Regions from separate parts of the Homo sapiens genome. Here all the other regions are linked to region 1. The links are contacts of gene promoters, found by promoter capture Hi-C in blood cells and fetal thymus (Javierre and others, 2016). All regions are on one chromosome and are shown on one strand. Each heading gives the region's core, a stretch centred on a gene start or on the middle of the fragment in contact. The rest is flanking DNA. Distances are from core to core; before and after follow the strand shown.

Region 1 (4,175 bases), core at 654-3,153:
GTATGGAGAATGGAGGGGGGCAGGGGCAGGAAGAGAAGCAGAGCCCCCAGCTCGGGGCTCCCATCACGCTGGCGCCTCCACATCAGAGCTAGCCTAACCCACCCCCGCCTCTCCTCCCAGGGCAGCAGACAACTAAAAAAAGATAAAATAAAAAGAAGTAATTCCCCTGCTCTGACGTCAGCGCGAGGTCTTAACAGCCCGGCAGCGGCATGAAACTGGATTGCAACCAGATGTAATGCCCTTGAATTCTCAACACACTACTGCATTGGAAAGACATAAAAGGGGGGCGGGGGACAGTATTGGTGGGAGGAACCGTGCAGATCCCGAGTGGGTCCCTGAATCCGGGCCCGCCGAAACCGCGGGGAAGGCGGCGCGGGAGAGTGTGCGGCGCGCGGAGCAGCGCCCGGCCGGCTCCGCCATTCAGGCGCGCGGCCTCCCCTCCCCCAGCCCCCACCGGCGCATTGTTACACTCGCTCCCATCCATTCAGAGCCCGAGGCCCGCCGCGCCCCCGCCAGCCCGGGCTCCGCGCAGGAGAGCACCGCGGCAGCCCGCACTCCGGCCCCTGCGTGGACTGGATAACGACCAAGAGCCCCAAGAAAGAAAACTGCTAGCCGGGAAAACGGGCGCCCCAGGAAGCTGGGGCCGCGACGGCCTAGGGCCTGGCTGGTGTTTCGCTTCCCCTCCGCCCCACCACGGAGGCCCCTGGCGCGACCAGGCTCCAAATGTCACCCTCGCGTCCTGCCACCCCTTGTCCCCGCCGCACTCGGCCCCCATGTCCTCCTCCCGGGTTCCCTGCCTTCAAGGCGCGTGAGAGGGGGGGCCGGCCTCGAAAAGGGCGGCGGGCTGCGCCGCCGTCTGTGGGGCGCAAGGCTCGCGTGTCCGGGGCCCCCGCCCGTGACGTCATCCCCGAAGGGCCCGTGCCTCCCGGGCCTGGCCGCTACAGAGCTCCCCAGGTCGCGGGGGCCGCTTCCTGCCCGGCCTCGGGGCCTGCGCACAGGCCCCGGGGCCGCTGCCCGGGTAGGGACACCGCAGAGAGCCCGAGCACCCATCTCGCCACGCACGGCCTTCGCCGGCCCTGACTCCCAAGCGATGGCCACGCCGGGCCCGGGTCACGCATGGGGAAGTCAGCTCCCCGTCCCCCACCTCGGACGCACTCACAAAGCTCACCTCCGCCCCCGGCGCCCCGCGAATGCACCCCACGTCCCCACCCCACGCTCCGCAAAGACTCCGCGCCTCGGCGCAAGCAGATCCCTTGCCACACTCGCCCCTCGCGCCCCCATGCCCCCACCCGACCTCAGCTGGCCGCACATCCCCCAGAAGACCCTCAGCCGCGGCGCAGGGCGCCCCCACCCTGCAGCTCCCCAGACGTCCATCCGGTGACCTCGCGCACCCCCCACACCACACAAAGCAAGGACCCCGCGGACCCCACATCTCCACCCAGCGCGCGCGCTCGGCGTCCGAACCCGCCTCGGCTCATCACCCGGCCTAGGATCCCGACGCCTCGCGCCGCCCCCGCCCCGGGGCAGGATACACTGCGCCCCCCGCGCCCCGGCGCTCGCTGCTCACCTCGGCGCCCGCGCTCACTCGGGGGCCTTGGGTCTGGCGCTGCGACTTCGCGGCCCGGAGGCCTGGGTGGCCATGGGGGTCGGGGCGCGGCGGCCCGGCCGGCCCGCGGCCAGGCAGGAAGGAGGGTGGGCCGCGGCGCCCCCTCCTCGCGCCGGCGCTAGGGCCGCGGGCAGGGCGGCCTGCTCGGCTCGCCTCTCGCCCTCGCTGCACTCGCTCTCCCACTCGTCTCTCGGAGCCCAGCCGCGGGCGGGGGCGGCGCCCGGGGACGCGGGGAGCGGGCCTTGGCCGCGCACCCGGCCGGGCCTGCCTGGTGTCCGCGGGTGCCGCGAGGAATGCGATCCCCTCCGCACAGGAAGAGCGGACGAGCGGACGGGCGGGCGGGCGACGCGCGGGGGGAGAAGGAGAGCAAGAGCGCGAGGAAAAAAGTTCCCGGGCGGCCTGGCTGCGCTCGCTCGCGGCCCCGGGCGCCAGGTGGGCCGTGCGCGCCCCGACAGCACCCCCTGGCGGTCCGCGCGCCCCACTGCGCGCCCCCCGCCCGCTGGCCGGCCTGCGGGAGGGGGCCTCTGCGGTGGGATCCCGGTGCGGCCTGGGAGGACACTAGCGCCCTGCGTACAGGAGCTTCCAGCGTCAGGCCAGGCCCCCACCCTCACCCCACCATTAGCCCTCACCTGTGCCCACTTCTTTGCAGTTTGAGAAACATTTTCGATTTCAAAACTCCATTGGCTTCATGTAAACTTCATTTACTGGGCACCTGGCACCTTGCTGAGTCTTGAGGAATCAGCAGAGACAATGCGGTCCCTGCTGTCGTGGAGCTGGCATCCTGGTGGGAAGAGACAGACAGCAAACAAATGCTTAGATACATGACGAAGATAATTTTAGAGCAGTAAGTGCTAGGACGAAAATTAGCAGGTGAAGTGACGGCTAGGGCTCCTTGGCTGGGGGAGAGAGAAGGAGGCCTGTCTGTGCAAAGATCTAAATAGCAAGAGGAACCGCCATGGGTAGAGTCTGGGAAGAGCATTTTGTTCTTTTAGAGGCAGGGTCTTGCTGTGTTGCCCAGGCCGAACTTGAATTCCTGGCCTCAAACAGTCCTCCCACCTCAGCCTTCTGAGTAGCTGGGACTACAGGGGCCTGCCCTCCTGGGAAGAGCATCATTGGCAGAAAGAACATCAAGTGCAAAGGTCCTGAGGCAGGAGAGAACTTGGTGAGTAAGTGGAATTGTGAGGAGGCCGTCAGCAAGGGGACAAGTAATGGGCACATTGAAGTCAGAGCCATATCGGGAGGGCCAGAGCCTGCAGGGCTGCAGAGAGCTCAGTGAGGAATTTGTTTGCAATTCTAGTGCAAGGAAGGTAGCCACTGGCAGACTTTAAACAGAGGCATGTTGAATGAGAGAGTCCTTGCATGAAACTTAAGGTACAGACCTCGGAGCAATTTCATGCCTAGGTCTCTACTTGCCATAGCTCAGGTGGGAGCTCACTGCCACCTGCTTGGGAAGCCTCTCAGCCCCACCCAGGCTCTAGGGTCTGTGGGATATGACCCCATTAACAGCCCCATCGAAGCCTCCCTCATTTGTCCTTTGGTAGGGCAGAGGGGAGCTGGTCAAGGCATCAGAGCTTGTGGGTGACCTGGGACAAGTGAATCCTGCATCTGCAAAATAAGGTATTGTGATAGATGGGGGGCCCTCACTCTGTCCCAGGCCTGCTGTGCCCCTTCTGTGCATGGTCTCATTAGATCCTGGTGCCCCCTCTGTGAGGTCGGCTCATCACATTTTGTGGATGAGGAAACAGGCGCAGAGTGGTGAAGTCCCCTGTCCAGGTTCTCAAGCTACAGGACAGAATCAACACAGGTCCCCACAGTCCTTCCTACTGGACTTGGCTACCCGTCTCCCAGGGTGAATGTCAAGAGCAAGACAGAGCTGGATCCCAGTGCGAACTGTGTTGTTTTAAGCTTGTTTTAAGTGCGGTTTCTGGATGACAGATCTGGTTTATTTTTATTTATTTATTTATGTATTTTTTTTTTGAGACGGAGTTTTGCCCCTGTTGCCCTGCCTGGAGTGCAATGGTGCGATCTTGGCTCACCACAACCTCTGCCTCCCAGATTCAAGCAATTCTCCTGCCTCAGCCTCCCGAGTAGCTGGGATTACAGACATGCACCGCCACACCCACCTAATTTTGTATTTTTAGTAGAGACAGGGTTTCTCCATGTTGGTCAAGCTGATCTTGAACTCCTGACCTCAGGTGATCCACCTGCCTCGGACTCCCAAAGTGCTGAGATTTCAGACATGAGCTACCGCGCCTGGCAAATCTGGTTTCTAAACGTGGCTCCTCTATGCCCAGCTGGGTGGCTTTGGGCAAACTACTTAACTTGCTGAGCCTCCGTTTCCTCATCTGTAGAATGGGGATAATAGTACCTACCTCATGGGTCTGTTGAGAGGATTGAATGAGGTACGTGTGGAAAGCATTTAGCTCACAGCCTGGCATGCAGTAAGTGCTATTACTGCTTTAAGATGCTAGATTAATGGGAACAGTCCCTATCATCCATCCAGGGCTCCCAATCTCCACCCCGAGCTGGTCTCCTGCCCTCCCTGCCTTACCTTAACCTGCTCCTGAGT
Region 2 (4,175 bases), core at 1,147-3,646, 380 kb before region 1:
AGATAAACATTGCCAAAAATACAGTATTGCTTAAAAGTGCTTAGAAATGAGTTCTTTCACCTATAATTCATTTTCATCTCATTTACTCTGCTCTGTGCATAGGGATAAGGCCTTATTGTGAGCAACTGAGATCACTGAAATAAGCTCTCAGCATCCAAATAAAGCACAGAATCTATACAGAGACAGGCTAAGATGTTGCTTTTGGGTTTGATGAGCCAAGGGAGAGCCAGCTGGGCAGCAAGCCCTCCCCGTGGCCTCTGTCCTCAGAGGTCCTCACCATTCTGAACTCCTATGGTAGTAGTAGCCCTCTATGGAGGCTGCTGACTTCTGAAAGCAGATGTAGTAGAACCCGGCAAAAGAAGCACCACTGATGTCTTTGATCGTGTGATCTGGGACCAGAAACTGTTCCTGCACACAGATGAAGAGGGTCAGTAACAGATAGCATTCTCTGACCACCCACGGGGCCTCCCTGTTAAGCATCAGGGGGTTCTAAGGACCACTCGAGAAAAATATAGGATCTCATAGTCTAACCTAGACTTGCTGGGTGATGGCGGGCCCGTGGGGTCTCAGCCTGACTTCTAAAAAGCGTCCATGTGCTCCTGGAGTATTCTATATACTAAAGTGACAAACTGTGTCTTGAGCTCACTAGGATCAGCAATTCAGAGAAGGTACCATGGCCGAAACATCTAATATATAAATCAATACCTACTCACCTGCCTGTCTGCCTGCCTCTCTATCTTTCAGAGACCACAGACAATCAACCTGGGAAGAGCGAAGTTTCTGCTCCAGTTCTCAGAACTGTCAACAGATGCTTGATAACATCTAGAACAGTGAGTCGCTTCTGTAGGTCTGTGGACCATTCTGAGTGCAAAGCAGTTGCCAGTAGCCCCTGTGACACCCCCTCCAAGAGCTTGACGCCTTGTCAAAAGCAGTCAGAACGGTACTGTTCTTTACCAGGGACCTTAGGAGAGAGGCAAGCTTGCCACCTCTGCTGGAGCTGAAAGCTGGAAACCCAGGTCCTGGCACCTACTTTCCCAGAGAGATGAGGTCAGAAGCTCCAGGGCCTCAGGTGGTCTACTAAAGGACCACAGATGAGCCACTCTGAGACATTCTTTGGAGGCAAAACAAGCCCATTGCTTTTTAAACAAATTTAAGACACCCTCCCATTCCTTATTCAACTTCTAAAATTGTGGCTTTTAAAATTAATTTTAAAATTCAGATCGGGTGTGGTGGCTTATGCCTGCAATCCCAACACTTTGGGAGGCTGAGGTGGGTGGATCACCTGAGGTCAGGAGTTTGAGACCAGCCTGGCCAATATGGCGAAAACCCGTCTCTACTAAAAATACAAAAAATTAGCAGGGCATGTTGGCGGGCACCTGTAATCCCAGCTACTTGGGAGGCTGAGGCAGGAGAATTGCTTGAACACGGGACGGGGAGGTTGCAGAGAACCGAGATCGCGCCATTGCACTCCAGCCTGGGCAACAGAGTGAGACTGTCTCAAAAAACAAACAAACAAACAAAAAAACCCAAAAATTAGCCAGGCGTGGTGGTACGCGCTTGTAGTCCCAGTTACTCAGGAGGCGGAGGCAGGAGACTTGCTTGAACCTGGGAGACGGAGGTTGCAGTGAGCCAAGACTGTGCCACTGCACTCCAGCCTGGGCAACAGAGTGAGATTCCGTCTCAAAACAAACAAAATTCAAACAATAAACTTCCTTTAACAGGTTGTTTAGTTGACATGTTTCCCGCTAGATGGCAAGCTCGTGAGCATACTGTTCCCTGTTTACTCTCTGCATCTGGCAACCTACTGGAAGAGTGGTGATCCCCACTTCTTTTTTTTTTTTTTTTTTTTTTTGGTGAGACAGAGTCTTGCTCTGTCACCCAGCCTGGAGTGCAGTAGCGCAATCTTGGCTCACTGCAACCTCCACCTCCTGGGTTCAAGTGATTCTCCTGCCTCAGCCTCCCGAGTAGCTGGGATTACAGGCGTGCACCACTACACCTGGCTAATTTTTGTATTTTTAGTAAAGACGGGGTTTCACCACATTGGCCAGGCTGGTCTCGAACTCCTGACCTCGTGATCTGGCTCTCTTGGCCTCCCAAAGTGCTGGGATTACAGGCATGAGCCACCGCGCCCAGTGATCCCCATTTCTTTTTTTTTTTTTTTTTTTTTTGAGATGGAGTCTTGCTCTGTCGCCAGGCTGGAGTGCAGTGGCGTGATCTCAGCTCACTGCAACTTCCATCTCCCAGGTTCAAGTGATTCCCCTGCCTTAGCCTCCTGAGTAGCTGCGACTACAGGGGCATGCCAACATGCCCGGCTAATTTTTTGTATTTTTTAGTAGAGATGGGTTTTCACCATGTTGGCCAGGATGGTCTCAATCTCTTGACCTCATGATCTGCCTGCTTCAGCCTCCCAAAGTGCTGGGATTACAGGTGTGATCCACCACGCCCGGCCGATCCCCACTTCCTAAAGTGGTTAGCTATGCAAAATAAAGACCAGGAAAGGCAACTCAATATGATTCATCTTTATGAAAGCTGACAAGATTTCAAGATAAAACGACTTTTTCCCTGCAGACTGGGGACTAGGGGTTGGTATGTTCTCAAAGTTATTTAACAAACTGGCTTCCTGATTTTGCTATTCTGGGGCTGTAAATATCACGTTATCAAAGCAGGGAGCACAAATGACCTCGCAGCTAAAAGCCAATCCATCAAGTCAGTCAGGTGGGGCTCTCTGAGGTCTGCTGAGTCAAAAACCCGTGTTCCATTCCCGGTCCCTCATTTCCTGAGCTGGAGGGAAGTAGAGGAGGTGAGACTTTCCTGAGCTCTGGGAAAAGGATGTGGTGGAGGGCACCTGGCCCACGGATGGTGTTTAAGCCTGTAGAGGGATCTGGGTACAACTGATGACTAAGTTCAAAGCAAGTTTGGCTCTGCCTTGAATCCACAGAACACTTGGAGTGATTCAACTTGGGGGTTCAACAAGATTCTTGGGTGGGAGAAAGGAAAGGGAGAAGACAATGTTAGAGGCAGCCACCTAGGCCCAAATCCACTTGCTACCCACCAAAAGCACAGCGAGGAGGAGCTGTCTGGGACATCGGCAGTTAACCAGTGCGTGCCCTGGAGCTGGGCCCACTTTTTATAGGCGTGCAAAGACCCTGCCATGAAGACTTTGCCATGACAACCAGCTGTGACGAGCACTGGACATGGGGAGCCCTTGGTTAGAGTGAATATGTAGGTGCGATACAGGGCCTGGCTTGCTGGGAGTCTGGAGGGCCACCTGGTGGGAACTTACCTTCCACCTCATGAAGACGTAGTCTCCATTCTTCAGCTCTTCATAATCAAAGTCATCTGAGTTAAATGATTTTGCATACTGATAAAAAGCCAGAAACTTGCCCTGAAAGCAGAAAAGAGAGTGTGCCGATTGACTGAGAGAAGGAGAGGCTGCTCTCAGAACTATGCTTATGTGCCCAGGTAAACTCACCTTCCCAAGGCATGACAGCTAGGGACGTGGCTCCCAAAAGGGCAGCTAAGACCAAGTAACAGATGGGGCCCTATGGTCACCCCATTGAATGCAGACTCAACCCTGGGGCAGATACCTGGACTCCAGCTGGGGCCCCACTGCCCTACACCTGCCTTGTTAACATGGCTGAGGAAAAGGCCAAAGGATGGGAATGGTGAACAGACAGACAAAATAAACAGACGAAAGCTAAGAAAAATTAATGAGAAGACCTCTGCAAGTAAATCCGAAGTAGCAAAAAGAGCCATGCAAAACAGCTTAGAAACAGCCTGCCCAGTCTCAGAGAAGAGGGCTTTGTGAAGCTTGTGTCTCTGCATGATCTAGGGGCTTGGGCCAGCTAGCTAAGCAGACACTAGAAACACATGATAGCCTTGTCCTTCGATATCTGCGAGAGATTGGTTCCAGGACCCCCATGAATACCAAAATCTGCAGATGCTTAAGTCCCAGATATAAAACAGTGCAGTATTTGCAGATAACCTACACACATCCTCCCCTATACTTTATAGCATCTCTAGATTGCTTATAATACCTAATTCAATGTAAATACTAAGTGAATAGTGGTTATACTGTATCGTTCAGGGAAAAATATCAAGAACAAAAAATCTATACATCCACTGGGTGTGGGGGCTCACGCCTGTAATCCCAGCACTTGGGGAGGCCAAGGCAG
Region 3 (4,175 bases), core at 898-3,397, 330 kb after region 1:
AGCCGCATCTATATGCCGGACACTCAGAGAGAGATGCCCTTAAAATGTCCATTTTGCAATTTAAAAAAACACCCCCACTAAAGCTCAGGCATAGAAGCAGAGCATAGAGGTCTGCAGGGGGGTTGGGAAGGGAGTTGGGGGGACAGCCACCCTTCCTCTGCCCTGGGCTGCGGCTCCTGCCGCCGAGCTTCCCTGCCTGGCTGGGCTGCCCCAGGCCTCCCTCCCTCCCCAGCATTTGGGCCCCTCGTGAATGAGGACACATTTTACAGAGTCATGTGACCCCCCGCCCCGTGACCACCCAGCAGCCCATGTAAGAAGACCACGTGATGGAACCCGAGGGCTGAAAAGTGCCATTAGTGCCACCCCAGGGTGCACGGGACGCAGAGCAGGCCCTGCCGCAGTACTCGCCACACAGCAGCCTCTGTCGCCTGCGGCAAACAGGCCACATCCCCAGCCCATCTGTTCATTGGAGGGTTTAGACCCAAATGCTGGAAGTAAACTTAATCTGGTGAGACTGCTCCCACGCCTGTCCTCCACGGCACTGGCCATAGCCCCTCCAACATGAGTCATCGCCAGCCTGGGGCCGGCTGTTATTGACCCGGATGTCCTGGTGCGAAGCCTGTTCTGCTTATGGTGACTTCAGACCAGGCCACCCACCCCCTGAGCCCGCTGTGAGGCGTCACTGCACTTGTCACAGGCTCTGCTGCCAGGTTTGCCGCCACCACCACCCCTCGCTATTTCTGGGCCCTTTCTACGACATCATCTGCAACCACTGTGGGCCAGAGCTCAGCTGCTCGCTCAGAGCATGGGCATGGTGTGCCAGCTGCTCTGCCCTCCAGGGAGCGTCCACAGGCTGGGAAGCAGAAGCGGACAGTGCAGTGAGAGAGCAGGAAGGACGCGAAAGCCTGGTCAGACTGTGTGACCCCCTGGGGGTGAGCGTGCCCTGGGCCTCCCAGGCCAACGAGCTTTGCGCACGTGCACATGGGTGGGTTTGAGCTGCGTTTCTGACACACGCAAGTGGAAGTCTGGAACCTGGAAGGGGGCCAAGGTGGCGGGGGGCGGGGTGGGCAGTGAGGACCCCACCCAAGCTGGGTAGGGGCTGCAGTGGGGAAGCAGCCAGGGACTTGGGCCAATTGCCCACTGAGGCTAAAGCTGAAGGGACCCAGCACAAGAACGTCTCGTGCTGGGACACGCTGGCCCACATGCCACCTGCTAAGGCTCATTAAGGGGTTGCCCTCCGCCGGGGCGGGCTGCCCAAGTGCAGCAGAGACCGGCTCCCCACAGCACAGGTGCAAATGGACTGATGAGGGATCCCCAGCGACACATGTGCCCTGGGAAGTGTGTGGTCTGAAGTCCTCACATCCCTCGGAGCCTGGAAGGGGGTGAGTGACAGGACAGAGGCTCAGCAACGCTGGCCAAGGAATCTGTCCTTCCTAGGCATGGGACACCCCGCTCAGTGTGGGGGTCCCCATCAGCAGCTTGCGCAGTCCCTGGGCCCTCTGGGGTGGAGACGGGTAGAGGGCCCAGCCAGAAGGGCTCTGCCACATCGTCCTTCACAAAAACGTCTGAGGAAAAGGCCACGTGGACAAAAGGAGGGCCTCCTGAGAAACACTGAGCAAGGCTGACCCAGGTCGAACGCCGCATGGCCTCGGGAACGTAACTGCACCTCCCGAGCCTGCCTCCTCCCCCCCACAGGTGGGAATGGCACTGCCGTGGACTGGAGAAGGATCAGAAGCTTTCCTCACATGCATGGCCTCATCTGGCCTGACGACCCCACGGGGTGAGGACTCACAGCCTACATGTGTCAAGAAGAGCTGGCCTAGGGTGGGGAACCTGGGCCAGTGAGCCCTGGACAGGCCCAGGCTGCTCTCCCCCTGGGCTCAGGCACTCGAGGAGTCCATGCAGGAGATACCAGGGGTCCCTCAGAAGGTGACCTGTGGTCAGCCCACCCCTGGTCAGAACCCCAGGCTCGGGGAACCACAAACCCCAGAGAGGTCTGAGGGCCAGGAGCAGTGTTCCCATCCTCAGCAGGGTCCCCAGGGTGGGGGCGAGGCCAGGCAGCAGTGGCCCCTCACCGAGGACAGATGGACACCCTGCACAGACAGGGATGAAGGGCCAAGGGGGAGCAGCATGGGGACAATGACAAGGCCCCTCTGCTAGAGGCCCCCCTGCTGGAGGCCCCGCTGCTGAAGAGCAGGTAGGGGAGTCAGATTCCTCCACCCTCTGGCAGGACAGAGAAACAGGGGCACATTCCCCACATACCTGAGCGTGCGGCCACGATTCCTACATGCTCCACAAACCTGCTTTCCCAGCGCCCTCTCCACCTGGGGGATGTCACCCCTTCCAGGGGCTCTGGTCCTAGAGCTCTGAATCTTTCCAATATTTTCAAATGAATCACAACTTTCACCGAGAGCTGAGTCACTGAGAGGCCAGCCTGGTGGATAAGGGAGGGATAGAGCTGATGTGCCATGGGGCAGAACCAGGCCTAGCTCTCCTAACGGGGGTGGATCTTCTTTTCTGGGGTTCAAAAACTGGTTCTGAGGCAAAACACAAGCTTCCCAAGCTTTCAAGAAAGTGACCTTCATTTCAATCAGAATTTTTTTGTTGTTGAGATGGAATTTTCTCTGCCACCCAAGCTAGAGTGCAGTGGCGCGATCTTGGCTCACTGCAACCTCTGCCTCCCGGGTTCAAGCGATTCTCCTGCCTCAGCCTCTCGAGTAGCTGGGATTACAGGCGCCCGCCACCACGCCCAGCTAATTTTTGTATTTTTAGTAGAGACAGGGTTTCACCATGTTGGCCAGGCTGCTCTCGAACTCCTGGCCTCAACTGATTCATCTGCCTCAGCCTCCTAAAGTTTTGGGATTACAGGCGTGAGCCACTGCGCCTGGCCTCAATCAGGAGACTGTTGACACGATCATGAATTTGGGGTCTCAGCCAAGGTCAGTGCAATGGGGACGGCAGCAGCCGGCTGAGCATCCAGGTGCAGACGGCACCTCACTCATCAACGCCTGCTTCCCATTTCCACCTCAGCAAGCTCCCCCCAGCCCTGGGTCTCTGCAGGGCGTCTCAGCCAGGGGCTGGCCCCTTCTTCCACATAGGAGACCGTGCTGGGACCTGAGGCCCCCGGGGCCTCCTCCTGCTGCTCCACAGTGCCTCGGCAGCCCCAGGCACCCCTCGAAGTGCTTGTTAACGTCACAGCAAGTTGCTTTGAGACCGTCGGGTGGGGTCATGTTCTGAAACATTTTTGCCCCTGCAATTATTTTTTTTTCTTTAAATAAATTATGTGGCTGAAGCAGCTGCCCACCTCGGGGTGAGTGATGATAACAGCAGAGAACAAATGTGGCAATTTGGAGCATGGAGTTCCTAAACTGACCTTTAAAACTGATGGCAATTATCAGTCTAAAAGGTTTCGCAACAGTCCGTCTCCTGAAGGATTCAGAGCATGTTACTCTTGCGGATGCTTGGTTAGGAGCTGACGGAGACTGCCCAGCCCTGCCCTGCCCTAGACTCAACAAAGATTCCCTGGCTGGTGTAAGAGGCAGGAGGGAATGTCCCCCAGTGGTACCCCACCAGGCCCTGCTCCCCTCTTTGTGGACAGAAGGCCTCAGGGCCCCTCCACAGCTCCCTCGGGGTCCGTGAACACTGCTCTCAGCAACCCGACCCACACCCCTGCACCAAGTCAGCCCCCAGGCCCGGGGCTCTCCCTGGGCAGGAGGAGGGAGGGAGAAACCAGGATGTGGCTGAGAAAATCTGGACAGGATTGAGTTTCTGTCATCAGAAGGACCCCCAGGATGGAAACAAGCCAAGTTGTTTTCTGCACCCCAAGCTATAGTCACAATGTTTTCAGGGTGTGGCTGGCCCCAGGAGAGTCCCTGTGACTCGAGTCTTCTGATGGGGCAGTCCCTCTCAGGACAGGGCGTGGAGCAGGTGGACAGGCCCTGCTGGGGACAAGAAAGGAGTTGCACATCACACATTCTCCTGGCCCTTCATGAGGAGGGACTTTCAGGGCCCCACAGGTGAGACCTCAGACAGCAGGAAGAGGCAGAGGGACTCAGGAGCAGCTGGGCAGCCAGCACCCCAGGGTCAGACTTCCCTCCAGAGCCATGTGGCAAGACAGCCAGGACTCTTCCAACCACCACCCTGCCTGGACCAGATGGTTTCAGATCATGTGATGC
Region 4 (4,175 bases), core at 958-3,457, 330 kb before region 1:
CCTGTGGAAAATAAACCCTTTAAGCTTTGTCTCTCTTGGTTTTCCAACTTTTTTGGCTACAGACTTCAGAGTAATGCCTGTTAATGTCTTGTGGGATGCTGATTTTCCACATAATCTCATGTGGGAAAAGCCAGGTTAGCTGATATGTGGAATGGGGTGTCTGGGGGACCAATTAGCACAGTCACAAGGGAGAAATGTCAAGAAATTATTAAGTTCTTTCCATGTGTGTACAAGGTCCCAGGCCAGGCTCTGGGAATGGTTCAAAGGTGTGTAAAGCCTGTTTTCGGTGAGCCTTGGCAGTGTGCTTAGGAGTGGGTGTCCTGGTTATTTTAGAGATAACTACAACCACAGTGTCAACCCATCACGAAAAGGTTCTCATCCTTCATTCTAAAAGGTGGGTCATAGTGGAGCTCTAAGCCAGGCAGAGAAATCATACCCCTCAGAGTTTGAATATGTAGAAAACAGCTTCAAAAGCTGTGAGAAGCAACAGAAACTGAAATCTGCTTAGAAACATACATGATTAGAATTGGTTATGAAAAACTGTGTGACATTTGTAAAATGAAAACAAAAGGAAACTGGGTTTAAGGGAATTGTTTTGAAATGTGAGTTACAAGTTGTTTCTGGACTTTGGGTGGCCTAGAGTGGTGGCTACTTCAATTTTCCCTCTTAGAATAGTTTTTATGGGTAGAATATTCCAGATCCCTCTCCAGTTTCTGCAGGTTGAAAGCACTAGGGTGGAGGCAGGGGCTGTGCAAACAGGTATTCCTGAGTCTTTTTTGAGCTGTTGCCCTGCTCTGTGGTCCTTGTGGCTGTAAAGACACATTTCTTTCAAAGCAACTTCTTTGTTTAAACACGTTGGCACTGGCCGGGCACGGTGTCACATGCCTGTAATCTCAGCACTTTGGGAGGCCAAGGCGGGAAGGTGGGTGGATCACCTCAGTCAGGAGTTCAAGACCAGCCTGGCCAATATGGTGAATAAAAATACAAAAATTAGCTGGGCATGGTGGCGGGTGCCTGTAATCCCATCTACTTGGAAGGCTAAGGCAGGAGGATAGCTTGAACCTGGGAGGCCGAGGTTGCAGTGAGCCAAGATTGCACCACTGCACTACAGCCTGGGCAACAACAGTGAAACTCCACCTCAAAAAAAAAAAAAAAAATTGGCATTAAAAAAATTGACAAATAACTGTACATATTGATGGGGTACATAGTGATGTTTCAACACCTATCATGTATAGTGATCAGATCAGGGTATTAGCATATCCGTCTCAAACATTTATCATTTCTTTGTGTTGAGAACATTCAATATCCTCCTTTTAGCTATTTGAAACTATATTATTGTCAACTATAGTCATCCCATAGTGGTATAGAACACTAGAACTTATTCCCCCTATCTAGCTGTAATTTGGTATATCCTTTAACAAATCTCTCCCTATTCCTCCATCTCTCTACCCTTCCCAGTCTCTAGAAGCCTCTGTTCTTGTTTTTACTTCTATGAGATCAACTTTTTTAGCTTCGGCATATGAGTGAGAACATGAGGTGTTTAACTTTCTGTTCCTGGCTTATTTCACTTAACATAATGTCCTCCAGTTCCATCCATGTTGCCATGGATTTCATTCTTTTTTTATGGCTGAATAGTATTCCATTGTGTATAGGTACCACATTTTCTTTATCCAGTCATCTGTTGTTGGACACCTAGGTTGATTCTGTATCTTGTTATTGCGAACAGTGCTGCAGTAAACATGGGTGCAGATATGTTTTCAATATAGTGATTTCCTTTCCTTTAGACAAATGCTCAGTAGTGAGATTGCTGGATCATATGATAGTTCTGTTTGTAGTTTTTGAGGGCCCTCCACAATGTTCTTCCTAGTGGCTGTCCTAGTTTACATTCTTACTTACAGTATATGAGTTCCTTTTTCTTTGCATCCTCACCAGCATTTGTTATTTTTTGTCTTTTTGATAATTATCATCCTAAGTGGGGTGAGATGATGCCTCATTCTGGTTCTTATTTGCATTTCCCTGATAACTAGTGATGCTGAAAAGTTTTTAATGTATTTGTTGGCCATTTGTATGTCTTCTTTTGAGAAACATCTGTTCAGATGTTTTTAATTGAATTGTTTGTTTTTTTGCTATTGAGATGTTAGAGTTCATTGTATATTCTGGATATTAATACCCTGTCAGATAAGTAGTTTGCAAATATTTTGTCACATTGTGTAGGGTGTCTTTTCACTCTGTTGTTTCATTTGCTGTGCAGAAGATTTATAGTTTGATATATTCCATTTATTTTTGCTTTTGTTGTCTGTGCTTTTGAGGTCTTATTCATAAAATTTTTTCCCAGGCCAATGTCCTAAAGCATTTCTCTTGTTTTCTTCTGGTCATTTTATAGTTTCAGGTCTTTTTTTTTTTCTTCTGAGACAAAGTCTGGCTCTATTGCTCAGGCTGGAGTGCAGTGGTGCAATTTCAGCTCACTACAACCTCCACCTCCTGGGCTCAAGCCATCCTCCCACCTCAGCATCCTGAGTAGCTGGGACTATAGGCAGGTACCACCATGCCCAGCTAATTTTTGTATTTTTTATAGAGAGGTGGGTCTTTGCCATGTTGCCCAGGCTGGTCTCCAACTCATGAGCTCCAGCGACCTGTCTGTCTCAGGCTCCCAAAGTGCTGGGATTACAGGCATGAGCCACTGCGCCCTGCCAGTTTCAGGTCTTACATGTAGGTCTTAGATCCATTTTTAGTTGATTTTTGTATAGAGTGAGAGATGGGAATCTAGTTTCATTCTTCTGCATATGGATATCCAGTTTTCCCAGCAAAATCTATTGAAGAGACTGTCTTTTCCCCAGTGAGTGTTCTTGGCGCTTTTGTCAAAAATCAGTTGGCTGTAAATATATAGATTAATTTCTGAGTTCTCTATTCTGTTTCATTGGTTTATGTATCTGTGTTTTTGTTTGTTTTAAACAGGCTTAATTCACTTTATTTTTCTTATATAAAAACCCTGTGTTACTTTGGGAAGCCAAGGTGGGCGGATCACTTGAGGTCAGGAGTTTGAGACCAGCCTGGCCGGCCAACATTGGTAAAACCCCATCTCTACTAAAAATACAAAAAATTAACCAGGCATGGTGGTGTGCGCTTGTAGTCCCAGGTACTCGGGAGGCTGAGGTAGGAGGATCATGTGAACCCAGGTGGTGGAGGTTGCAGTGAGCCAGGACTGCACCACTGCACTCCAGCCTGGGCGATAGAGCAAGGCTCCATCTCAAAACAAAACCCTGTGTTGTAGCCACAGCTGAAGCCTGAGTCCTCCACACAGAGACTCTGGTGTGGGTCTTGACAAGATGGTCAGTGAATTACTGAGAGGAAGACTTGGTGAACACAGTCTCCTCCCAGAGGTCAGGGGGCAGGTAGCTATAGGTCTTGGAGATGGCATCAAAGGTGGCCTTGGCAAAGTTGCCCAGGGTGGCACTGCAGCTCCTGGCTGAGGTGTAGCAGTTGTCAATACTGGACATCAGCAGCATCTTCTTGGGCACAGAGGCCAAGAGGATGCCAGTGCCCCTGGGTGCAGGAATAAGGTGCAGCAGCACAGAGCCGCAGCAGCCTGTCATCTTGCAAGGGACAGTGTGGGGCTTGCAATCTTGGTCCCCCAGTGGCCTCTGCACGGGGACAGTAGAGAGCTTGGTCAGGACAGTGATCCCTCTGACAGCAGTGGCTGCTTCCTTGGAGCACTTAACACCCAGAGTGACACGGCCATTGTAATCCCTGATGGCAACAAACGCCTTGAACCTGCTGCGCTGGCTGGGGCAGGTCTGCTTCTGCACTGGCATAATCTTTAAAACCTCATCCTAGGCCTGGCGTGGCGGCTCACGCCTGTAATCCCAGCACTTTGGGAGGCTGAGGCGGGCAGATTACCTGAGGTCAGGAGTTTGAGACCAGCCTGACCAACATGGAGAAACCCCATCTCTACTAAAAATACAAAATTAGCTGGGCATGGTGGCGCATGCCTGTAATCCCAGCTACTCGGGAGGCTGAGGCAGGAGAATCACTTGAACCTGGGAGGTGGAGATTGTCGTGAGCCAAGATCATGCCATTGCACTCCAGCCTGGGCAAAAAAGCAAAATTCCGTCTCAAAAACAAACAAACAAACAAACAAACAAAAAAAAAACCTCATCCTTGAGAGAGGCCCCCAG
Region 5 (4,175 bases), core at 748-3,247, 310 kb before region 1:
CCTCTCTGGGCCTCAGTTTCCTCATCTGCAGCTGAGGGTACAAAAGGGCCTGCGACACGGAGTCCTTGGAGTCAACCAGGTAAAGCCTACAGGACCTTGGTGATCCTGTGGGATGGAAACTGATGCCCAGAGAGATGAAATGCCTTGCCCAAAGTCACACGGCTACACAGGGCTACAGCCAAGGCAAACCTGGGTCACCAGCTGGCAGAAACAACCCAGCTCTGGAGCCCTGCTCTTCACTATTCCTCACCACCCTGCCCTCATTCTTTCCAGAATGTCAGGTGTGTTTGGTTTTTTTTAGAGATGGTGATATGGTTTGGCTGTGTCTCCACCCAAACTCATCTTGAATTGTAACTCCCATAATTCCCATGTGTTGTGGGAGGAACCCGGTGGGGGGTAATTGAATTATGGGGGTGAGTCTTTCCTGTGCTGTTCTCATGATAGTGAATGAGTCTCATGAGATCTGATGGTTTTAAATATGGGAGTTTCCCTGCACAGGCTTTCTTTCTTTGCCCACTGCCCATGTAAGATGTGACTTGCTCCTCCTTGCCTTCTGCCATGATTGTGAGGCCTCCCCAGCCATGTAGAACTGTAAGTTCAATTAAACCTCTTTCTGGCTGGGCACGGTGGCTCACGCCTGTAATCCCAACACTTTGGAAGGCCGAGGCAGATCACCTGAGGTCAGGAGTTTGAGACCAGCCTGACCAACATAGTGAAACCCAGTCTCTACTAAATACAAAAAATTAGCCAGGTGTGGTGGCGCATGCCTGTAATCCCAACTACTTGGGAGGCTGAGGCAGGAAAATCGCTTGAACCCAGGAGGCGGAGGTTGCAGTGAGCTGAGATTGCGCAATTGCACTCCAGCCTGGGCAACAACAGCGCAACGCTGTCTCAAAAAACAAAAAAACAAAAAAACCAAAAACCTCTTTCTTTTGTAAATTGCCCAGTCTCAAGTATATCTTTATCAGGAGCGTGAAAACAGACTAATACAGATAGGGTCTCACTACATTGCCTAGCCTAGACTGGTCTCAAATTCCTGGCCTCAAGCAATCCTCCTGCCTTGGCCTCCCAAAGTGCTGGGATTATAGGCATGAGCCACCTCACAGGCCCAGAATGTCAGGTTTTTGAGTGAATTTTTCTCTATCCAGTGAAGGTGGCTCCACAGACTCACCTGTGACTGGATGCCTTAGCTCAGAGCTCTCAGATCCAGGAGCTCCTTGATTCTGTCCTGAGTCCCTCAGCTCACAACTTAAGCCCATTGATCGATGGTCACAGCCTCAGCCCTAATGACAGGTACCAACCACGTCCTCTGGGCTCCAGGCAACTGGGGAAAGAATGAGATTCTCAGGCCCCACAGACAAAGCTTCAAAAGCTGGCCTCTAATGGGGTGACCCTGGACAGCCAAGCTATGTTTCCCCAACTATAAAATGGGGTTAATGATGGTACCTGCCTAGTGGGGTGGTTGAGAAAACAATAAATGCCAGATCCAAGTGCACAACAAGAACAAGTGAGTATGGCTAATGAGAACACATTTCAATCCATTTCTCCACCTCTGAAAACCTGGCTTGCCAAACATGGCCAGCCCATGCCATGCTGACCAGATACTACACATGTCCCTGAAATCCAGACAGCATCTCCCCCATGCAGCTCAGCTGACCGGACTCTGAACTGCCTGTTGGGTACATTGCTCTCAAGTGGAGATTTTACCTCCCAAGGTCTTACAAGAGAGATGAAGAAACTGAGGCCTAGAGCGGAAGGGGCCTTGCCAAGGCAGGCTGGTGGCAGAGGCTCTGAGACAGCCATGAACTCAGAAGGATATGTCTCAAGGAGCTCACCGACACCAGGCAGGTAGGACAGATTGTTGCCCTCTGAGTCCTCAGCGTACATGCTGTCAAACAGGAAGGAGCCATTCAGGTGTTCCACAAACGCAGTCTGCAGGCAGAAACACACGTAGGTAGGACGGCTCCTGTCAGGGGCCCCTGCATCATCTCACAGGCCCATGAGGAAGGCAGGTCAGGAGGGAGCATGTTCCAGACAAAGAGAATGGCATGTGCAGAGGTGCAGAGGCATAAAACTGCAGGCTGTTTCCAGAATGTTATACATTTCTCAGTCTGGTTGCAAGGAGGGGTGGAGACTGGTGGGAAAGAGGCCAACTGGGTCCAGTCATGAATTCAGGGCCATGGCTACAGGACCTGAGCCGTTCCTGGCATGTCATGGGGAACTGCCTTAAGGGTCTTAAGGGGCCTCTGACAGACTGTTTTTAGCACATTCTCTCCAGCAGCTGGAGGCAGGAATGCCAGTAAGGAGTAGGGTCAGGGTCTGGACTGAGACGGAGCTGGCCCTGGGGCAGACAGCAGATGAGCCAGGAAGGGAGAGGGCATCAGGCCCTGTGGAGGGAGCATGATTTCTGTGTTTTCAGAGCCTGGGGATCCCTGAGGACCGTTTTACTTGATCAGTGCCCTCTTGTGGGCATCTGAGGGGGCCGAGGGCGTGCAGCCTGCCGGAACGGTACCTTGTGCTTCTCTAGCTCCTCCCGCTGCGCCTGCTCGTCCTCCAGCTGGGCCTGCATCAGGTTCTCCTGGTGCTTCAGCTCGTCGATGCTGTACTGGTGCTTAGCCTCCGCAAGCTTTTTCTGACCAGGGAACGGGAGTGGCATTGTTACCAGAGGTTCCTCCGAGCCACACCGCCTCTGCCATGCCGCCTCTGCCATGCTGCAGCCTCCCGCGCATGGGCAGGGGTGTTGCACAGGGGCCTGCATGAAGGCTGTGAAAGCCATGAGGTCTCGTGGATGAGAATGCCCATCTCCTGATGACCCTCACCAGGTTTTTGTGAGCGCAGGGAAATCAGGGAAAGACCAGGAGGAGCGGAAGGCAGCGTGGCAGGCTGGGGTTCCCGGGGCCATCTCCAGGGCAGGAGCCACAGCAATGGAGCGCTCCCCTCGCCCCAGACTGGGTGTTCTCCACAGAGGACTTGCTCTCTCACTCCCAACAGCCCTCAGCAGGCCTTCTGGCCCTCTTTTAGGGAAGGAGGACAACAGGACAGAGGTAGAGTGAGGCCATAGGGCTGGTCACGAGGGTCTGGCCCTTGGCTCTCTCCACCGCACTGGCTCATCCCCCTGTACCTGGCCAGGAATGCTGGCACCTCTAGAACTTAGTCCCCGTCCCCCAGCTCACTCCATGTGCCCCAGGTGATCCCACCTGTACCATGGCTTCAACTACTGCCAATTGGCAATCCTCAGATGACACTCAGGTCTCTACCTCCAGCCCTGACTCTGCCCCTGAGAGCCAGGCCTGAGCCTCTGATGGCCTGGTTCCCTCTGGAGCTCAGCTGTTAATATTGCTCCTGGGATGACACCAACTTAGGGTGAATCCTGGCTTGGCCTTGAGCCAGTGATCCTGGCTGCTTGCCCTCCTTGGGCCTCCTCAACTTCTTTTCTTTTCTAATTTTTTAATTTTTTCACTCTGTTGCCCAGGCTGGAGTGCAATGGCATCTTCTTAGTTCACTGCAGCCTCAAACTCCTAGTCTCAAGCGATTCTTCTACCTCGGCCTTGTGAGTAGCCAGGATTACTGGTGTGTGCCACCACACCTGGCTAATTTTGGTAGTTTCTGTAGAGATGGGGTCTCCCTATGTTGCCCAGGCTGGTCTTGAACTCCTTGGCTCAAGCGATCCTCCCGCCTCAGCCTCTCAAAGTGCTGGGATTACAGGCGTGAGCCACTGCTCCCAGCCCTCCTCAGCTTCTTCATCTGGAAAACTAGACAGTGCAGGATGGCTGTGAGGTGGCCCTGGGACAGTGTGTGGAAGAGGCCTGGCCCCTGGGAACGCACACAAAACAGTACTTACAAGGGTGCTGCTGGAATCACTCTGACAGAGTCAGGTAAAGGGATTAGGAAGAGGGAGCTGCCCTTTCTCTCCTAGTTGTGGGCAGGGGAAGCTACTCTTCAATGCCCCTTTTCCAAGAAACCTGGGGGCTTGAGGAATCTGTCTCACAGGGCTGGGAGACTGAGAGGGAGACACTTGCTGTGTGGTCATCAATGCGCCGGTAGTCCAGGTACATGAGGTCAGGAAGGTAGGCACAGATGAACATCTTGTAATCCTCTGCCTCAGAGATAGGGTTCCTAGAGAGGCTGAGCGTCCGCAGGCACTTGAACCGCCGGAGGTAGATGATCTGGGGAGA
Region 6 (4,175 bases), core at 452-2,951, 310 kb after region 1:
TCATCTAGGTTATCCAATTTGTTGGCATACAAGTGTTCATAGCGTTTTCTTATAATCCTTTTTATTCCTGTAAAATCAGTAGTAATGTCCCTACTTTAATTTCTGATTTTGATAATTTAAGTTTTTTCTCTTTTTTTTCTTAGTCATTCTTGTTAGTTTTGTCAATTTTTGTTGGTCTTTTAAAAGAATCAACTTTTGTTTCATTGATTTTCTCTATTGTTTTTCTATTCTCTATATTATTTATCTCTGCTCTAATCTTAATTATTTCCTCTCTTCTGCTATTTGGGCTTATTCTGTTTTGTTTTTGTTTTTGTTTTCTAGTTCCTTAAGTTGTAAAGTTAGGTTGTTGATTTGAGATCTTTCTTGTTTTTCACCATAAGCATTTTTTTTTTTTTTTGAGACGGAGTCCCGCTCTGTCGCCCAGGCTGGAGTGCAGTGGCGTGATCTCGGCTCACTGCAAGCTCCACCTCCCGGGTTCATGCCATTCTCCTGCCTCAGCCTCCGGAGTAGCTGGGACTACAGGCACCCGCCACCATGCCCAGCTAATTTTTTTGTATTTTTTTAGTAGAGACAGGGTTTCACCATGTTAGCCAGGATGGTCTCTATCTCCTGACCTCGTGATCCACCCACCTCGGCCTCCCAAAGTGCTGGGATTACAGGCTTGAGCCACCGCGCCGGGCCTTCCCATAAGCATTTAACAGGTCGAAAATTCCCTTTTAGCACTGCTTTTGCTGCATTCCCCAAGCTTCAGTGTGTTGTTTTTGTTTTTATTCATACCTCTTTATTTTTTAAAAGTCATTTTATTTTATTTTATTTTATTTTATTTTATTTTATTTTATTTTGAGATGGGGTCTCACTCTGTCGCCCAGGCTGGAGTACAATGGCGCAATCTCAGCTCACTACAGCCTCCACCTCCCGGGTTCAAGCAATTCTCCCACCTCAGCCTCCCAAGTAGCTGGGATTACAGGGGCACACCACCATGCCCGGCTAATTTTTAGTAGAGACAGAGTTTTATCATGTTGACCAAGCTGGTCTTGAACTCCTGACCTCAGGTGATCCACCAACCTCAGCCTCCCAGAGTGCTGGGATGACAGGCGTGAGCCACAGTGCCCTGCCTGAAGTTATTTTAAATCCCATTTGAGCAGTCACTCACCCAGTCAGTGGTGTGGGATCTCCTGCCCTCTCAGACCCACAGAATGAATGAGAGCTTGGCCGTCCAGCACCACGTGGGTGAGTCCTGACCCTCCAGAGAGGAAGTCCAGCTGACATCACCCCAGTGTCTCTTGGCATTCAGCAGCATCAATCCCACAGTCTCCAAGGCCCCCAGAGCCCTGCCTGGCTCAGTCTTGGAGACACCAGAGCCCTATTCCTGCCTTCGCCATCATCTCGGTCAGAGGCCTCTCTGGGATGTCTCCAAGTACCTTTTCTTTTCCATCCCTAAAATCCAAAAACCTGATCGGGAGGGTGTAGATTCTCATCCCAGGGCAGGCAAAGTCCCTCCCTTGGGGGCTTCAAGCATAGGAGCAACTTCTCGGCAAGACTCTGTGCTCCGTCAATCAAAATGCATTTCTGAGCCCTGAGTTATGTGTTTCTATGCTTTTCATCCTAATTCAATTATACGTCTCTTTGAAGCCTCACTTGACTCCTCCTCCTGCAGGGCCTTAGAAGGTACTAAATAAATGTGTCCAAATGGCGGGTGATTAATGCATGGATGCCAGGGGGTCAATAGCAAACAGGGACTGGGGAGAGGAAACACCTCCAGGGACGGAGGACAGACGAGAGTGTGCCCCAGACCCCAGCCCCTCCGGCCTCCCTTCCCTCGCTGAGCCTTGGCAGCTTTGCCTGTCAGCCGTGCCGACTGCCCTACAGATTAGAACGCTGCGCTGATCCCAGCTCTGTGCTCAGTGGCTCCAGTACCTCGCATTCTACCCAGCATGTCATCTGCTCTGTGCACAAATTCTGGGCAAAGCAGGGTCACATATTACAACCAGGGCCCAGAGAGGTCCCAGACTCACACAGCAAGGAAGAGAGCCCCACATCAAACCCTTGGGCTGCTGTCCAGCTGGCAGCCCACGAGGGTCCCTGAGAGCCCGCCTGGGTCTTGGGTTGCTCCCCTGCGGGACATTTCCACAGATGCAGAGCTGCTGGTCACAGCAAAAGAGACGCAGTCCCTTCCCACCAGGAGCTGAGACTCAGGACAGGAGGTCCCGTCCTGGTGTTCTATGCTTTTCCCACCAAGAGGCTCAGCGATCCAAAACGTAAGCCCGGAAGTCGGAAGGGCCAGGGGTCATGCTAAGGCTGTGGCACAGATGACTCCCAAGAGCTCTCTTCCTCATCTGTAAAGTAGGATGCCTCCCCCGCACTCCCAGAGCAGGCAAAGTCTGTTCTCACCAACAGCTCCTCCCTGCAAAGCCAGGGCCTCTGCCCGAAGACTTCCCCTGGCCAAAGAACATGCTGCTGTGTGCCCAGGGCAAGCCCGAGGGCCTGCCTGACAGCTGACACCCCAGGAGCAGCCCTCAACTAACAATTGATGGAAGCAGATGGGTAAATCCCCAGCTCCCGTACCTCTGGGCTGGGATCACCTGAAGCATGCTGTGCACAGTCTCCCAGAGATCCCCAGAAGGACCAAACCCCAGTTACCCACAGCAGTAAGCTTCTCATCCCTGCACCCAGTAATCAAATTCCTTTTCCTTCACCATCTCACTTCTCCACCTCACCATCAGTGCTTCCAGGAATCAGCTTCCAAACAAACTTCTTGCATTCAACTCCACATCTCAGGGTCTCCATTTAGACACAGGAATTGGAATTATAATAAGAGCTAATGCTTAACTGAATGTTCTCGATATCCCAGTCTCTCAACAATAAAATGGGAAACATTTCACTCTTATTATTTGTTTGTATCATGTATCAGTCAGGAGAGGTCACTTTAAGCTACAGTAACAAACAACCCCCAAATCTCAAGGGCTTAATACCACTAAGGTTTGGCTTGATGGGAGTGGTTTCTCTCTTTGCAGATCTTCAGGGACCCACTCAAACTAACATGTTTCACCATCTTAAGACACCCCCATCTCAAAGGGAGGCTTCAAAGTTTGCCAAAGCAGGCAAGAGAGTAGCACACAGGCTTTTCCACCAGGAGTGGCATCGGTCACTTCTGTGCTCATTTCATTGGCCAAGCTACTCCACTCCAAAATCTCAACCCCAACTCTGGACCACAGCCAAGACTTCTGAGAGAAGACCCATCCTTGGGTCTGCACCAACCATCTCTGAGTCAGTTACTACTTCTGTGTAACAAAGCATGCAAAACTTAGCAGCAGAGACAACACTATTGTTTCTCATAATTTTTGTGCCTAAGGAATTACAGGAGGGCTCAGCCAAACAGTCTGTCGTGCGTTTGCGGTTCTGAGCCCCTGGCGGGGCATCTCTTCCTCCTGATGTTTATCTGTGTGGGCTTGTTGGACTTCCTCACAGCATGGCAGCTCGAGCAGCTGGCCTGCTTACGTGGCATTTCAGCAAACCAAGCAGAAGCTGCATTGTTTCTCACATTCTATTGCTCCTCAGCAAGTTACACATCCTCCCAGAATCAAGGGGAGAGACAGAGCCATGTGCAGAGGACATATGGGCTAGACAGATTACTGCGGCCACCACACCCTGCCAAGGAGGAACCCTGTGGGGGTGAACCCTGTGCCACATCCTCGAGGTGCCCCCTCTGCCCCGTGATGGAGAACTGAGAGGCACCAGCGGCCTGCATGACAAACTGCTGTCCCTTGCTGGGACTAGCTCAGAAGTCATGTTGCCTACGTAGTTGGCCCCACCCTACATGTCAATAATGGGTTTTTTTTGGTACTGGTACGTGTTCAGTTAGTATCTGGATTAGAGTACTTGAAAATTGGTGGCACTGAAGGAACTCCAAGTGTCATCAACCACATACATTTACCATGACATTAGATTCCTGCTACAGCTGTGTGAGGTGAGCCAGGAGGGCACTGCCACTCCCCCTTTTAAAAGATGTTAAGGCCAGGCGCGGTGGCTCACGCCTGTAATCCCAGCACTTTGGGAGGCCGAGGCGGGCAGATCACCTGAGGTCAGGAGTTCGAGACCAGCCTCAACATGGAGAAACCCCGTCTCTACTAAAAATACAAAATTAGCCAGGCGTGGTGGTGCATGACTGTAATCCT
Region 7 (4,175 bases), core at 1,655-4,154, 290 kb before region 1:
TCACTTAGATTTGGCGTGGGACAATTTTATCTTGTTTTCTATTCTTATTCAGAATCCGGAGCGTCGTGGATATTCAAATGATGAAGACACTAAGTATGACGCTTTACAAACATCTGTGCTGCTCCTATGCCTTGTAACCCAGGTAGGCCCTAATGCTGATGTGGGAACCTCGACCGTGGACTTTGCATGGAATCCTGGGGCTTGAAGATGGAGCAGAGAAAGCCAGGGAGGGCCCACCCTGGCCACCACCCCTGAACCTTGGATACATACTCCGAAAGTCCAGCTGCAGGGACAGGACATCCTTGAAGAGGATGCCCTCCTGCTTGGCCAGCTGCCCGGCCTCCTCCTGGGGGCCCTGGTCCCCGACGGCCAGCTTGAGCATGTCATCGTCCATCACCCTCGGCTCCATCGAGTTGCACGGCTGGTTCATCTTCCCCCACGTTTTCCCTAAAAAACACCGCATTCTTCCTTCACGGCCTGCTTCTTTCTCTGTTTGAGGGCAGGGTCTGGCTGAGGTTTCCCCCTGTAGTGTCTTGTGGCCACTGGCACTCTGAGGAATGCCCCACGCCCAGCCCTGGGTCTGCTGCATCTCGGGGTTTGTATACTTACGCCAAGGCTGCTCCAGGGCTTCCTGGCAACCACCTGGGCCTGTCCACAGGGTTTCATCCCTTGACCCTACAGCCACAGCTGGGACCCTCGCTGGACCCACTGGACTGGTGTCCACACTGGTCTCCCTAGCCTGTGATCTTGACTCATCTTATGACTGTGGCCCTGTGTCAGGCCTCTGACTTTGTATGCCCATCCTCACTTGGGCTTGTGGGTACCAACCACTGACTGTGCTCCCTGGGCAGCCCCAGCCAGGCCTGTCAGCCTGCAGCTCCTCTTCCTTGAGCACCTCACCCCCTCCAGGCCGTCATGTGTGTATGCCCCACACCACACCACAAGCTTCTCCTGGTGCAGAGGGAGCCCCTGACCCAAGCTGCCCATTCACGTCCTCCCCGTGGGAGATGTGAAGTTGAGGCTGTGGAATGAGAGTGCCCATCGGAGCTGGCTGCTTGAGCTGGGGAGGAATAGGGAGTGTGGGCTGGCTGGGTACATAGTTAAGCAGAGAGCAAGAGGGGGAGGAGGCAGATGCACAGAGAAAAGCAGAGATGGGAACCTGGGAATCAGAAAACAAAAGACAAAGGACAGACAGATCGACACAGACAGAGGCTGCCTCCTTCTTGCTGGCTTTCCAGTCCCTAATGTCCCTAGGTCCAGGCCTCATGAGAGTTTCCTGTTTCTCACATGAAATCCTCTTCTACTTAAGCTAGCTCCAGTAGGTTATTTTTTAATTTAATTAATTTATTTTTTTTGAGACAGAGTCTCGCTCTGTCGCCCAGGCTGGGGCACAATGGCGCGGTCTCAGCTCACTGCAACGCCCGGATTCAAGCGATTCTCCTGCCTCAGCCTCCTGAGTAACTAGGATTTCAGGTGTCCACCACTACGCCTGGCTAATTTTTTGTATTTTTAGTAGAAACGGGGTTTCACCATGTTGGCCAGGCTGGTCTCAAACTCCTGACCTCAGGTGATCCACCTGCCTCCGCTTCCCAAAGTGCTGGGATTACAGGCATGAGCCACCGTGCCCAGCCTCCAGTAGATTCTGTTGCTAATGGTCCAGAGGGATTTGACTGAGACACCACAGCACAGGGGGGATCTGTAGATTTGGTCAGTCACAATGTGAGGCTGACTCCAGGCTGCCGTTCGTGGCTGGACCACATTCTCATCCTTATCAACCCTCTTGGTGAGGACATCCAGGAGGGATATTTTCCCCCACTTTCCACCCCTGATTCTTGCCTCCCTGCTGGCCCTACTTCCTATCTTTGTCTACATGCCTTCCCAGCATCTGGGCCTCCCTGAACCTCCTGTCCTTCTGCCCTGCTGGTCCCTGATGCTAGGCAGCCCCTGTGCTCTGTTTTTCATTCCACTGGGCACTGCTGGAGAAACTCCTGGTGCAGGGCTGATGGTGTCTGCTGAAAAGCCAGGTTGGGCCATACAATCCTGTTACCTGGTCTTAGAGACTTCCCTCTAAGACTGCCCTCCTCTTGCCTCCCTGACCATCCACTTGGATGCAGCTTCTGCAAATATGCATCCTCTGCCCTGAACTGTCCCTCATCAAATGTCCCAATGAGCTCTTGTGCACACTTCTCTCTTGCTTCCAGGGGAGGCATAGCCTCCACACCCTTCAACCCCTACCCCTTCTCCACCTGTGCCTTCCGTCCTCCCAAGACCTTGGTCCTTTTCCTCCCACTCTCTCCAATCTGTTCACACTGGCTCCACCTCGTTGGGGTGACTGATTCTACCCCCAAAGACAGTTCCAGACCTCGGCCTCTCTCTAGCTCCCCACTCTTATGCAATGGCTTCCCCTGCGGTTTCCCATAACTTGTCATCAACTTGTCTTTGGGGGAATTTTAATGTGTTATATTTGGCTGATGTTTTCTGCAAAGTGTTTGGCCTTTTTTTTGGGGGGGGGGTGGGGAGGTCAGGCGCGGTGGCTCACACTTGTAATCCCAGCACTTTGGGAGGCCGAGGTGGGCGGATCACAAGGTCAGGAGATCAAGACCATCCTGGCCAACATGGTGAAACCCTGACTTTATTAAAAATACAAAAATTAGCTGGGCATGGTGGCGCATGTCTGTAATCCCAGCTACTTGACAGGCTGAGGCAGGAGAATCGCTTGAACCAGGGAGTTGGAGGTTGCAGTGAGCCGAGATCGTGCACCACTGCACTCTAGCCTGGTGATAGAGCGAGACTCCATCAAGAAAAAAAAAAAAAAAAAGGTGCTATACTTTGGGAAATGACTCTTAATTTTGATTTCAAAACTTTAACTGACTTATCCCTCCTACTTCATCAGGGCCTGGTACCTGTGACAGATCAAGTTTGCTTTCAGTCAAGCCCAGCAATTGCTATGCTAGGAAATGGGGGATTGTTATTACATATGCTATTTGTTAAGCACATCAGAGCAGGATTTGGATCCTGACTGTGCATCTTTTGGCAACTCACTTCACCTATCTAAGCCTTGGCTTTCCCATCTGTAAAAGGTGGATAATTTCTCCCTTCTGCATTTGTGTGAGATCACGTATTTAGTCCACACATGGGTAGTGAGTAACTGCTATATGCTGTGAATAAAACAGACGGACTTTAACCCAGCTTCAGGCATGAATCAAACAATAATACAAATATTTAACTACAAACCATGACAATTTGTAGGTGTAGGGAACTATGAAATTGTACATTAGGGGCACCTGGCCTGGCCAAGGAAGACAGGGCTGATTGGAAGGACAAGCAGGAAAGAAGGAGGAGGTAACTTTGTGGAAAGGCCCTTTAGGTGGGAGAGAACAGACTTGTTGCACTTTGGCTGAAGTGATGCAAGTTTGGAGAGGTCTGTGGGAGTTTTGTTATTATCCTAGAATCCCTGGAAAGCACCTAGGGCTTAATAAGGGCAGCAACATTAGCTGGGCATGGTGGTGCATGCCTGTAGTCCCAGCTACCCTGGAGGCTGAGGCAGGAGAATCGCTTGAAACCGGGAGGCGGAGGTTGCGGTGAGCCGAGATCGTGCCATTGCACTCCAGCCTGGGCAACAAGAGCGAAACTCCATCTCAAAAAATAAAAAAAATAAGGGAAGCAATGTGATCAGATCTTAGTTTTTAAGAAGCTCACTCTAGCAACAGTACTGAGAATTGCAAAAGTACTGAGGTGAGAGATGACCAGGGTGTTAGCAAGATGTAGATGGGAGAAATTTCTAGAAACTTAATTTACATGTAGGGCTAATACTCACCAATATCCAGATAAGAAAACAGAAGCTAGTTAAAAAGGTTAATTAACATGCCCAACTTCATACACTTAGCACGTGGCAGAGTTCATTTTCCTAATCATGACTCAACTGTATCCAGGGTACTGGGGACTATCATTGCCACAGCTCACAGTGTTTCTCACAGTTGTCCTGGGTTCAGGGCCAAGGCCCAAACAGTCCTCTTCTATGGGGATCTTATAGTTTACCACCCAACCTGGGTCCCCTTTGACTTGCCTGATGATAGTGTTGTTGAAGACCAGAGAGGTTGGAGCTGGGGAAAGCAGCAGAGTTTTACACAACTGTCAACGGAGTGGCCTCCTCACAGATAACAGATCCAGAATTT

Evidence for each region. Contacts are between HindIII fragments. The CHiCAGO score rates a contact against its expected background, and 5 or more counts as called.
Region 2: a fragment that was not itself captured here is called in contact with the fragment with the promoter of RAI1 in region 1 in 2 of 17 cell types (total CD4 T cells and naive CD4 T cells); the score reaches 5.3 in total CD4 T cells.
Region 3: a contact is called between a fragment that was not itself captured here and the fragment with the promoter of RAI1 in region 1, in 5 of 17 cell types (fetal thymus, M1 macrophages, monocytes and 2 more). The highest score is 8.6, in fetal thymus.
Region 4: a fragment that was not itself captured here is called in contact with the fragment with the promoter of RAI1 in region 1 in 5 of 17 cell types (M1 macrophages, total CD4 T cells, naive CD4 T cells and 2 more); the score reaches 5.8 in M1 macrophages.
Region 5: a fragment that was not itself captured here is called in contact with the fragment with the promoter of RAI1 in region 1 in 2 of 17 cell types (naive CD4 T cells and total CD8 T cells); the score reaches 6.5 in naive CD4 T cells.
Region 6: a fragment that was not itself captured here is called in contact with the fragment with the promoter of RAI1 in region 1 in 1 of 17 cell types (M1 macrophages); the score reaches 6.1 in M1 macrophages.
Region 7: a contact is called between a fragment that was not itself captured here and the fragment with the promoter of RAI1 in region 1, in 8 of 17 cell types (naive CD4 T cells, naive B cells, total CD4 T cells and 5 more). The highest score is 7.9, in naive CD4 T cells.

What each region holds. Positions count from the first base shown.
Region 1 is chr17:17,679,186-17,683,360 of GRCh38, reverse strand. RAI1 (retinoic acid induced 1) reads right to left here and starts at 1,903. Exons shown (of 6, transcript NM_030665.4): 1 at 1,568-1,903. RefSeq lists silencers at 243-1,192, 1,179-1,351, 1,363-1,442, 1,503-1,642, 1,673-2,182 and an enhancer at 1,261-1,862. The HindIII fragment of the contact is 10,976 bases long and covers 1-3,513 here.
Region 2 is chr17:18,058,078-18,062,252 of GRCh38, reverse strand. It overlaps GID4 (GID complex subunit 4 homolog), which reads right to left. Exons shown (of 6, transcript NM_024052.5): 4 at 3,284-3,385; 5 at 278-408. Among named protein-coding and RNA genes, the nearest start is that of GID4, 21 kb to the right of the region's middle. The HindIII fragment of the contact is 2,832 bases long and covers 981-3,812 here.
Region 3 is chr17:17,348,807-17,352,981 of GRCh38, reverse strand. No RefSeq gene overlaps it. Among named protein-coding and RNA genes, the nearest start is that of NT5M, 48 kb to the right of the region's middle. RefSeq lists enhancers at 413-707, 972-1,551. The HindIII fragment of the contact is 819 bases long and covers 1,738-2,556 here.
Region 4 is chr17:18,010,915-18,015,089 of GRCh38, reverse strand. All of the region lies in intron 12 of DRC3 (dynein regulatory complex subunit 3), which reads right to left. It also overlaps the pseudogene LOC100419436 and a transcript of ATPAF2 not described here. Among named protein-coding and RNA genes, the nearest start is that of ATPAF2, 26 kb to the left of the region's middle. The HindIII fragment of the contact is 4,361 bases long and covers 27-4,175 here.
Region 5 is chr17:17,992,756-17,996,930 of GRCh38, reverse strand. DRC3 (dynein regulatory complex subunit 3) reads right to left here. Exons shown (of 14, transcript NM_031294.4): 6 at 4,020-4,166; 7 at 2,513-2,632; 8 at 1,820-1,932. Among named protein-coding and RNA genes, the nearest start is that of DRC3, 22 kb to the right of the region's middle. RefSeq lists a silencer at 1,929-2,095. The HindIII fragment of the contact is 1,263 bases long and covers 1,366-2,628 here.
Region 6 is chr17:17,365,192-17,369,366 of GRCh38, reverse strand. No RefSeq gene overlaps it. Among named protein-coding and RNA genes, the nearest start is that of NT5M, 64 kb to the right of the region's middle. The HindIII fragment of the contact is 1,908 bases long and covers 748-2,655 here.
Region 7 is chr17:17,973,854-17,978,028 of GRCh38, reverse strand. DRC3 (dynein regulatory complex subunit 3) reads right to left here. Exons shown (of 14, transcript NM_031294.4): 2 at 4,067-4,175; 3 at 271-447. The coding sequence starts at 430. It overlaps LOC107984989 (a long non-coding RNA gene), which reads left to right. Exons shown (of 3, transcript XR_001752801.2): 3 at 53-473. Among named protein-coding and RNA genes, the nearest start is that of DRC3, 3.1 kb to the right of the region's middle. The HindIII fragment of the contact is 3,914 bases long and covers 948-4,175 here.